Regions from separate parts of the Homo sapiens genome. Here region 2 is linked to region 1. Evidence: promoter capture Hi-C in 16 types of primary human blood cells and fetal thymus (Javierre and others, 2016). All regions are on one chromosome and are shown on one strand. Each heading gives the region's core, a stretch centred on a gene start or on the middle of the fragment in contact. The rest is flanking DNA. Distances are from core to core; before and after follow the strand shown.

Region 1 (4,885 bases), core at 1,162-3,661:
TCACTCTATGGCTTCCTCTTCCACACTCTTGGGTCTCTGTGCACCCTTGTTGAACCCTATGACAGAAGTTAAGAAGGGATTTTCTGAGGGGGGAAGAGAATCATAACCAATGTTTATAGAGCTCTTCCTATAGACTAAGTGGCTCACGTGGATTGTTGCAAATCCTCGAAATCCTTGGACAGGTGTTGCTATTCTCTCTCCTTCACAAATGAGCAGTAGAGGTTTAAGGTGATCAACTCGTCCAAAGTCACACAGGAACTCCAGAGCCCGTGTTCTGGACCATGTACATACTTCTTCAGGTGGTTTTTCATCTACTTTTACGATACAGTAGTGCATAATAAGCATGTGAGTCGTATTTGGAAGGTATAATAAAGTGGACACTAAGGCAACCACCTCCCAGCTTCAGATAAACATCACCACCAATACCTCTGCAGTCTTGGGGGCCCGCCTTCCCCTCCCACCTGGTACAGGCCTTATCTCCGGAGCCTCCTACCAACACCTGCTGCACTTCCCCCACTGGATTCTGTGCTGCACACAAAGGCTAGGCTCATTTTCCTTAAAAAAACAAAAAACAAAAACCAAACTCCTTACGCCATGGGGATGGCCCCCTTAGGGCATGTTCTGAACAAGGGACCTATGCCCAGAAACAACGCACACATCTGTGACACTCTGCAAATGATTTCAATGTTTGGCAGACTTCCTCAAACTCATGATTTGTCATTCAAACTGGGACACTTGAGAGTAAAAGGGGGAACTATCTAGTAGTCACACTGGGATGGCGGGATGGTGGGGCCACACTGGGCAAACAGGTGGCACAGTCACCTTGACTTCATCCCTGGGCTCTCATAGCTCTTCCCATCACATTGCCCGGAATGCTTTCCTCCAATCGTATGGCCCACTGACTGTCCTCATAATGATCCCAGCTTGATGGAGTGGTTATGACATCGCCTTCCTGAATAAGATGAGGGTTCTAGCTTGGTTGGAGAGCATAGTATAGTGCTTACTAATCAACACCCATCCATTAGGATCTGGCTGACATCCACCTCTCCCATCAAGTCTTCTGACTGTACCAATGCAGTCTTCTCTCCTTTCACAGACGGTTTTAGCACAGGCTGTGTGCCTGGCTTGCATGCCGTCATAGCCCGCCTGGTATTCTTCCACAGTGGTTCAGAGCACTGGCTCTGGAGCCGGGATTCTAGGTTCCAACCTGGCTTGGGCACTCACTAGCTCTAGGACTTTGGGCAAGTTATTGAACCTCTCTGAGCACTAATTTTCTCAATATCTACCTCATAGGGTTGGCTGAGAGGATCGAATGCGTTACTTGTATTTAGAACAGTATCTGGAACAGAATAGGAGCTACAGAAGCATTAGCTCTCACTGTCGCCTTAAGGCAATAATCTTGTCAAATGCCTATTAAAAAAAAATAGCCACTAGAGAGCTCTTCCCAATGTATGCACACAGTGTGTGTCAAAAATACTTCCCAACAGGTATTTCCCACAAAGGTGTGGGATGTCTGAGAAGCTCAGTGCTCCTGTGGTTAACAAACCTGGTGACAAAGGAGACTGTGTCAAGCCTGAACAAAGGAACAAGAGCTCCGATATACTTTAATCCTCTTCCCTGGAGGCCTCACATCAACACTGTCCACAGTCTAGTTCCTATTACAGCTGGAATGGAGCAGATGGCCGGTGGTTTTACACTTATCTTACTTGATCGTCACACAAGGGCAGATGGGGCTGGTAGGGCAGAAAATGACCCCAATTTGACTCAAAGAAATTGAGACTCAAGGGGTACAGTGGCCTGCGAGGTTACAAGCCAGTATTTCTTCCAGACCTCACGGGGAAAGGCACCTGTAACATTCGCCTCTCCTGGAGGCCGCTTCTTGGTCATCACTGACGTCCCTGACCGCTGTGCCTGGCTTGCTGTCTTCCTATCACCGCTCACCACCCCCTTTGCTGGCTCTTCCCTCCTTCCTACTTTAAACTTGATGGCTGTTTCTCCACTTGAGCCTTGGCCTTCTCCCTGCCCAATCCTCCGTGCTGATCCAGCCCACGTTTCAAATTCCCCTTCCACGCAGCAGCCTCCCAAATCTGTCAGCAGGCTGACCCGTCGCCTGAGTCACAGTCCAATTATTTCAAGCATCTCATATGAGGTGGCCCCGAACACCTGAAACCCGAGCCGACCCCTCTGGTGTCTCCTCCTCCTCCCATCAACTTTTCTTCCTGTCTTCCTGGCTCTTTGCATTCCCAGCAGCCTGTGGATCTCATACCGAATACCCGCCCCCAGCTCTCCTGCAGCCAATCAGCTATCGCACTTGGTCCAGGTGAGAGTGGCAACGTTTCTCACACCTACTTCCTTTCTGTTCCCTGCACTGGGTCCCATCCCCTCCATGTACAATAGCTGCCTGGCAGGTCTCTTCCTTCTAGCAACTCCCTGCTCCTGCAGTCCCTCCGTGACCTTCCTGATGGGGAGATCCTCAAGACTTTTCCCATGAGCTCGGGGTTCCTGAGGCCCAGAAGAAGGTGAGAGTTAAGGCTCCGATTTTGTTGTTATATTATGCACTATGACTCTACTTAATATATATATACATATATTTTAAAGGTTGCTAAAATATAGTTTAAAAACACAGTTCTAATTTCAACCCTCATCTGTTCTCTCAAAGGAGAAAAAAAGGCTGATTCCCCTTTGGCAGTGCAGGAACATCACCATGAATTTCAGACCCTCCACAAATCCACCTCAGCCTCCTTCCCAGCTGGTTTCCGCAGGGACCTCGTCCCTCCCCAGCAATGCCCTGGCCCGCCTGGCTTCACTCCCTGCACATTTCCTGAACTTTCCTTCCTCCTTTCTCGCCATTTTCTCCATCTGTACTCCCACCCTCTCCTTTCATGGCCTCTTTTTTCCCCACCACCTCCTCCTCAGAGTGCTACTGTCCTCAGGGCCCCCTTCCTCAGCTCTCCTCCTGGCACTGTACGAGCAGCACTCCAGGTCTCCCGTTAGACTTGAGGACTTTGTCTCCTCCACGATACCAACAGTAGCTGATGCAGGGCCAGATGGCATATACTTCAGGCAGCTCTGCACTGCCCCAGGACACCAGGTATGGCAAGAGCTCAGCAAGCGGGCGATCCGTGCCGGCAGGGCTGCCCGCCATCCCATCTCAGCACACCCACGCCACGTGGGGTAACCACTTGTCACTTCTCTCTTGTCAAAATGGTAAAAAGTATACTCCAACAGATACAGGCTAAATCAACACCACCGACCAAAACCTGCCACAGACAATTTCACTAGAGAATGACCGCCACACAGAAAAAACCCCAGAAAGTATTTTCTACAGTTTCATCTGAAATGAAAAGGGCACTGGGTACCGCAGGGTACTGGGTACTCACTCTCACTTGTTCATCACCATGTTATTTTATTTTACCTCATAAAGGATTTGATGTGTATATACATGTCTCAGAACTTATTCAAGATTATTTTAAAAAGACACTTATGAAGAAATCAGTGGCATACAACTCTTTATATAAAGGATAATTGAGCATTGAGGGTCTAATTCTTGAAGCAATATTTTTACTTAAAATAACTGCATTGAAATGGATTTTTTTTTTTTTTTTTTGAGACAGGATCTGACTGTTACCCAGGCTGGAGTGCAGTGGCACAATCTCGACTTACTGCAGCCTCTGCCTCCTGGGTTCCAGCGATTCTCCCACCTCAGCCTCCCGAGTAGCTGGCACTATTGGCGCATGCCACCACACCCGGCTAATTTTTGTATTTTTTGGTAGAGATGGGGTTTCACCATGTTGGCCAGGCTGGTCTCAAACTCCTGGCCTCAAGTGATCCACCTGCCTCAGCCTCCCAAAGTGCTGGGATTACAGGCGTGAGCCACCACACCTGGCTTAAAATGGGTTTTAAAGTACCCCTGTTACCAACTGCCCCTTTCCTCCCTCAAAAACCTACTGCACAATTGCATTAGAGTTAAAATGCCAAAGTTTCTTCATTTTAAGGTACTTTAGAAATCCTAGAGCAAAACTCAATTGAACGCTTAGCTATGACTGAAGAGTCTCACTCCTGGCCAAACACCTATGTGTGATCTTTCATGCCAAACCATGGTCAATCATAAAGACTGCCTGGTGGGCCTCACGGGGGCAAGCTACACTCCCCACACCTGACTTGTGCACAGCCAGTGCATGACAGGTCCTGGGGGCCACAGTCAAGGACTCAGCCCACCTCCCCGCAGCCCGTGCTCTTCCAGAGCTATGTGCACTCCTGGCTGGGTGCCTTCATTCAGAGGGATCTGTTCCTTTCATGCAAGTCCTCCCTCAGGCTCCTCAGCTGAGACTTCCTGGGGAAGGGAAGCTTGAAGCCACTTTTCTCCATATCTGTGCTGATCCAAAATGGAATCCACAATTGTTTCAATAAAGAAACTGTGGCATATATAAACACAATGGAATATTATTCAACCTTGAAAAAGGAGATCCTGCCATTTGCCACAACGTGGATGAACCTAGAGGATACTATGAAGTAAGCCAGGAACAGAAAGATAAGTAGTGCAAGATCTCACTTAGCTGTGGGGTCTTAAAAGTCAAATGTATAGAAGCACAGAGTAGAATGTAATCACTGGGGGTAGGGGGTGGAGGAACGTGAGATGCAGGTCAAAAGGTACGAAGCTGCAGTTACATAGGATGAGTAAGTCTAGAGACCTAACGTACAACATGAGGACAACAGTGAATCATACTGTATTGTATGCTGGAAATGAGAAGAGACCTTAGATGCTCTTTCCACACACCCACACCTGGGAAACTATATGAGAGCTACGCTGATTTGCTTGACTGCAGTAATCACTTCACTCTGTAAATGTATATCAAAACATCCTGATGCATACCTTAAAAATACA
Region 2 (4,885 bases), core at 1,687-4,186, 160 kb before region 1:
TGCAGCTCCTCTGCCCATTCCTGATGGGGGCCATGAGGGACAGCATCCATGCCAGGAGGACCATGCAGGTGGCTCTCGGCCTGGCCAGGTCCGAAAACTTAATCTACACCTACGATAAGGTAAGTGCTGGCCCCCACGAGCTGCTTCCTGGTCAGTCAACATTGTACTGAAGGTAGATTTTACTGATGGAAAAATAGTCTTTGTTGGTTTTTCTTTTTTCTGTCTCTATGACTACAACACATCAATATCTGATCCTACTCATAGAAACTGAGGTCTGTGTGAGCAGAGGCAGAGGCTGGGCTGGTAGGTGTAACATCGGTGTAGTTTTTCTCCCCTTTTGGACGCTGGTGATTAAGAGAGTCTGTAGGGAGGAGAGCAGCATCAGAATATCAGGCGCTTACCCAGCATGTGCTGTGTGCCAGGCACTGACCTAGGCATTTTACGTCATGCTTGCATTTTGTCATCATGACAGTTTTATGCAGTATTTACTGTCAGCATCTCCATTTCACAGGAGAGGAAATTGAGGCAGAGAGCAGTCGCATGCTCAGGAAATGGGCGTGCCCAGAGCTGCCTCCCAGGCCAGTTGAGAACCCCACATTCTTCGTCCCCACACTGTACTCACCTTCGGGAGACTTCTTTCTTGTGGGCCTAAATTCCACATGGCTGGCAGAGTCTTCTTTCCAGAGCGGGTATCCGACGTGTTCCCCTCCCACTTAGAAGCCTTTGCTGACGCTCCCTGTCCTGGAAGATGCAGTCCCACCTCCTTCAGCATATCCCTCCCCACCTCTCTCTGCTTCCCAGCTCATGTCCTGGCTTTAGCACAACCTTCCAGATGTGATTTGGTATTTCATACTTTGTTGCTTTTGTAAATGCTGTACCCACTGCCTGAGATATTCTTACCTTTTTCTTTGTCCCCAGCAAATGCCCAGTCAAAATTTAGCCTTTATTTTTTTCCCTTGGTGAAGCCATCTCATACCTCTTAAGTAGAGTAATCACCTTCTCTTTCACCCACTTTTACTTGGTGTTCGCATTCACAGCTGTTACCCGCTACTATTAGAGTTTGGGTTCTTTGAGGACAGGGAACTTCATTTCTTTATCTCAGTGTCTGTAGGGCTAAGCCTGCCATGTCGAAGGCATCTAATCCGTGTTTGTGGAATGACTGATGCAACTAAGGAGTGCAGGATGAATCGCTAAGTTGCTGCTTGATCCTGCCAATAGACCAACCTGCCTCGGTTGACACGAGTGAATTGTGTAGAAAAACTTTATAACTTTCAGAACTCAAGTCCTGTTGATCAGACAGGGACCGATGGCATTAAGACTCAGTTTCACCAGTTACCTCTAAGGAAACGGAAGGGTGTCTCCCAGGACCAACCAGGAATATGCCACTTGTTAGCTGTGTAACTTTGACTACATCCCTTATTTGTTTGTGCTTTACTTTTCTTATTTGCAAATGAGAGAACCCTGGAGTTACACTATTATATGGTCTCATTCAGCATTAACATTCATGACTTTCTAACAGGCCTTGCTTGAAATGATCAGAGCCAGAGAATGTTGGAGAGAGGATCTTAAGTAGAAATGCCTCAGCCAGACAAGCAACAATTACTTTTGTGAAATAAGAAAAGCAATTGTGTAACTTTCTTCCTTGTCCAGTTACTAAGGATGGTTTTATTTACACCTTTAGCATTTCATTTCAAGAAGTTGATATTAAAGAAATCCTCATCATAATAATAACCCATGGAGTAATGCATGTCAACTCTGCAAAACTAGAACGTAGCCACTTTAAATATACTTAACACATGACAGCATTCTCAGTCTTGGTTTCTTCTTGCAGATGAAGTTGAAAGGAAGCTCAATCCAACTCTCAGACAAAAAGCTTTGTCAGATATGCCAAAATCCCTTTTGTGAGCCTGTGTTTGTTAGATACCCAAATGGTGGTCTTGTGCACACCCACTGTGCCGCCAGCAGACACACAAACCCCAGCTCATCCAGTCCTGGCACTCGGACTTGAAAAGCTTGGCCCAAGGGTGCGAGGGGAACTCCGAGTTCTTTCTGAGCCTGCTGGACATGAAGAGCAGATGACCACCATGCTCTGTGTCAGCCAGGACGAAGGGAGACATCTGGGTGCCAGGGAGCCTTCCGTCCATACGCAACAAGGACTCCTCGCTGCTGACCAGGCTCTATGAATGTACATGGAATGACCAGGCTCTATGAATGTACATGGAAAACCCCTAAAAATCCCCAAAACAGAAACATACAAGAGTTCACCTGTCCAGGTACATAGTAATCCAAGACAGAGGTCTACTTTGAAAAAAAAAAAAAGGGAGTCTTCCTCATGCAGTCCAGACCCAGGTGGGGGATCCCCCACCACCCCCACACTCCAACCTTTAGACTCATGTTTGCACTGGAAACGTGGCTTCACCATGGCTGGCGACAAAGTCCTCTCTTGCCTGGGTGAGTGGCGAGGGCACAGAGCCTCATGGGGGTCAGCCTTGCCCTCCTGCAGAAACACGTTCTCCATCCACGCCGCTCACTCATGGGCCCATTTCCCAGGGTTACCTCGTGGGCTCTGCCTTTGCCCTCAGAAACGGCTGACCCTGGAGAAGTACCTTTGTTCCTTCTTTCTTCCTCTCCGGCTCTCAGCTCCCAAAAGATTCTGCCTTGTGTACCCAAGCACTCACTCTTGGGTGAACTAATGCTTCTGGCTGCCTAGCAAGTGAAGATCTGTTGAGAAACTGAGAACGCTCCAAGAGAGAAGCTGCTCTCCCCTCCTTGAAGAAGCCGCGGACACGGGAAACCCACGGCGGGCAAGGGCCCAGCTGTGTGCTCCTTTCCTGTCATGGCATCTGCTGATTTGAAACTCCATGACGAACACGTTGAACTAAACATTTTTATTTAAATTTGTATCATGTTCGTAGTTGCTCTCTTGTTGAGAGAGTCATCTGTCCTGTTTGTTAGGGGTATTTTTTCTTGTTAAAATGTATCTCCTGTTGAATACTCGGGAAATTCAAAGGGAAGTGTGGTCAGCACACACTGAGCGTTCTTTTCTGGAGAGGCCGGTTTTAGCCTCGTACCTTTAGCAGGACCGACAGCGGGTGGAAGGGCCCGTGTGCTGGATGGGGGTGTCGCCTCCTGGATGGCACACCCTCCCGAGGACATCCAGACAGGCTGTGTCACCCTCCAGCACTTTATGTGCCTGCTCTGAGGTGTCCTGAACACACAGCAACGGCCTCTCCTTCATCACAGGCCGGGGATTCCTTTTGTGTTTCTGTATAACATCGATGACGAGCTGAAGCTGTTGTCACTTCACTGCCCTCTTTGGAATTTCTTCATTGTGCTGACTGATTCTATTAGGGGCTAACAATAAAGGCAGTCTACCCACTACTATCATGCTTGGGAAACAAGCGTCAGCTTGTACATATGACAAGAGAGGACCCTGAATACACCCTCTCTTCATCAGCCCAAGCCTTACTGAGGTGGGATGAAGACCTCATTCTCTGTTCTTTAAAACATGTTTCGTGAACTAATATTGGTCCATGTATTTTTTGTCCTTTTGGGACTCTAAGTGGGTCAAGAAGCAAAAACATCCATGTGTTGTTTGGGGGGAATTGGCACCATTTTTTCCTGACTATGTTTCAATTAACTAAAGAATAAATGATGAAGAAATTCTCCTTGTAGCACAACTGTATGCTGTGTAAATTGGTGTGAGCTCAAAGCCCAGTCATGTGTTTTACCTGTGGGTGACTCTGTTGTAGAATGGTCATATTACTGCATATGTTATCATGACAACTTGTGAGTTTGAGTTTATATTTCTCAAAGAACAAGTTACCCGTATATGCAACATTGCGCCATTAAAAGCTTATTTCTCTGTACACAAAATGGGTAAAATCTTGAAAAAACTTAGTAATTTCTCATTCCTAACACACAGACAGAGTCTCACTCTGTCACCCAGGCTGGAGTGCAGTGGCGCAATCTCGGCTCACTGCAACCTCCACCTCCTGGGTTCAAGCGATTCTGCTGCCTCAGCCTCCCGAGTAGCTGGGACTACAGGTGCATGCCACCACGCCCAGCTAATTTTTGTATTTTTAGTAGAGACGGGGTTTCACCATGTTGGCCAGGATGGTCTCGGTCTCCTGACCTCGTGATCTGCCTGCCTCGGCCTCCCAAAGTGCTGGGATTACAGGCGTGAGCCACTGCGCCCAGCCAACACTAGTCATTTTTATTTTTTCACTGAACATTGATCAATACTCTAAAATGTTTGTCATCCTTTAGAATAATGGGAATTAAAGTTGAGCAGTTTTCCATCTCTACCAAATCCTTCACCACAAGCAGCATTCTATTACAGTATGAAGAATTGTCTCATATGTTAAAACTGTACTTTTCTCTAACCTTTCTCTCACTCCTACAAGGCCCTTTTCTCAAATCATATTTCTGAGAGAAATGTATGGTTCTTTCTCACAGGCCTGCTGATTTGTAACTGTGCCATCGAATAGAGCAATTAGATCCATCAGACCTTTTTCCCCTCATTAGGTTCAGTGGAACCATTCTGGTTAAAACAGCATGAACTGAACTCAGTTTACATTCATATTCTATGGGCAATACCATTTGGTTTTTGGAACTGTTTATCTGCTGTTCCCTATCAAGTATTAATGTAGGGATGTCACTCAGGCTGCGTTGCACTGGGCTGAGTTCAACTGCGACGCTCTCACTGACGCGTGCTTACATGTGCTTCTCACTTCCGGAGCACAGGCAGGTGGCTGCGGGGTCCCAGCTCTGAATGGATGCCCATGATGCAACTGGGGCAGCCCTTGCTTTTTGCTTGCTCTCCCACAGAAACCTTTGTCCTTGCAACTTTATCCTTTGTCCCGATTGGGTCCCAGATACACAA

The links. The method cuts DNA at HindIII sites, captures the fragments that hold promoters and counts their contacts. A CHiCAGO score of 5 or more calls a contact.
Region 2: a fragment that was not itself captured here is called in contact with the fragment with the promoter of MRPS9-AS1 in region 1 in 2 of 17 cell types (naive B cells and total B cells); the score reaches 5.4 in naive B cells.

What each region holds. Positions count from the first base shown.
Region 1 is chr2:105,100,470-105,105,354 of GRCh38, reverse strand. It overlaps MRPS9-AS1 (MRPS9 antisense RNA 1), which reads left to right and starts at 2,411. Exons shown (of 4, transcript NR_110227.1): 1 at 2,411-2,519. It overlaps LOC105373527 (a long non-coding RNA gene), which reads right to left and starts at 3,598. Exons shown (of 3, transcript XR_923138.3): 1 at 592-3,598; 2 at 148-314; 3 at 1-56. RefSeq lists enhancers at 133-993, 994-1,855. The HindIII fragment of the contact is 13,539 bases long and covers 1-4,349 here.
Region 2 is chr2:105,264,506-105,269,390 of GRCh38, reverse strand. It overlaps TGFBRAP1 (transforming growth factor beta receptor associated protein 1), which reads left to right. Exons shown (of 12, transcript NM_004257.6): 11 at 1-119; 12 at 1,832-4,885. The coding sequence ends at 2,008. Among named protein-coding and RNA genes, the nearest start is that of GPR45, 25 kb to the right of the region's middle. The HindIII fragment of the contact is 1,843 bases long and covers 2,015-3,857 here.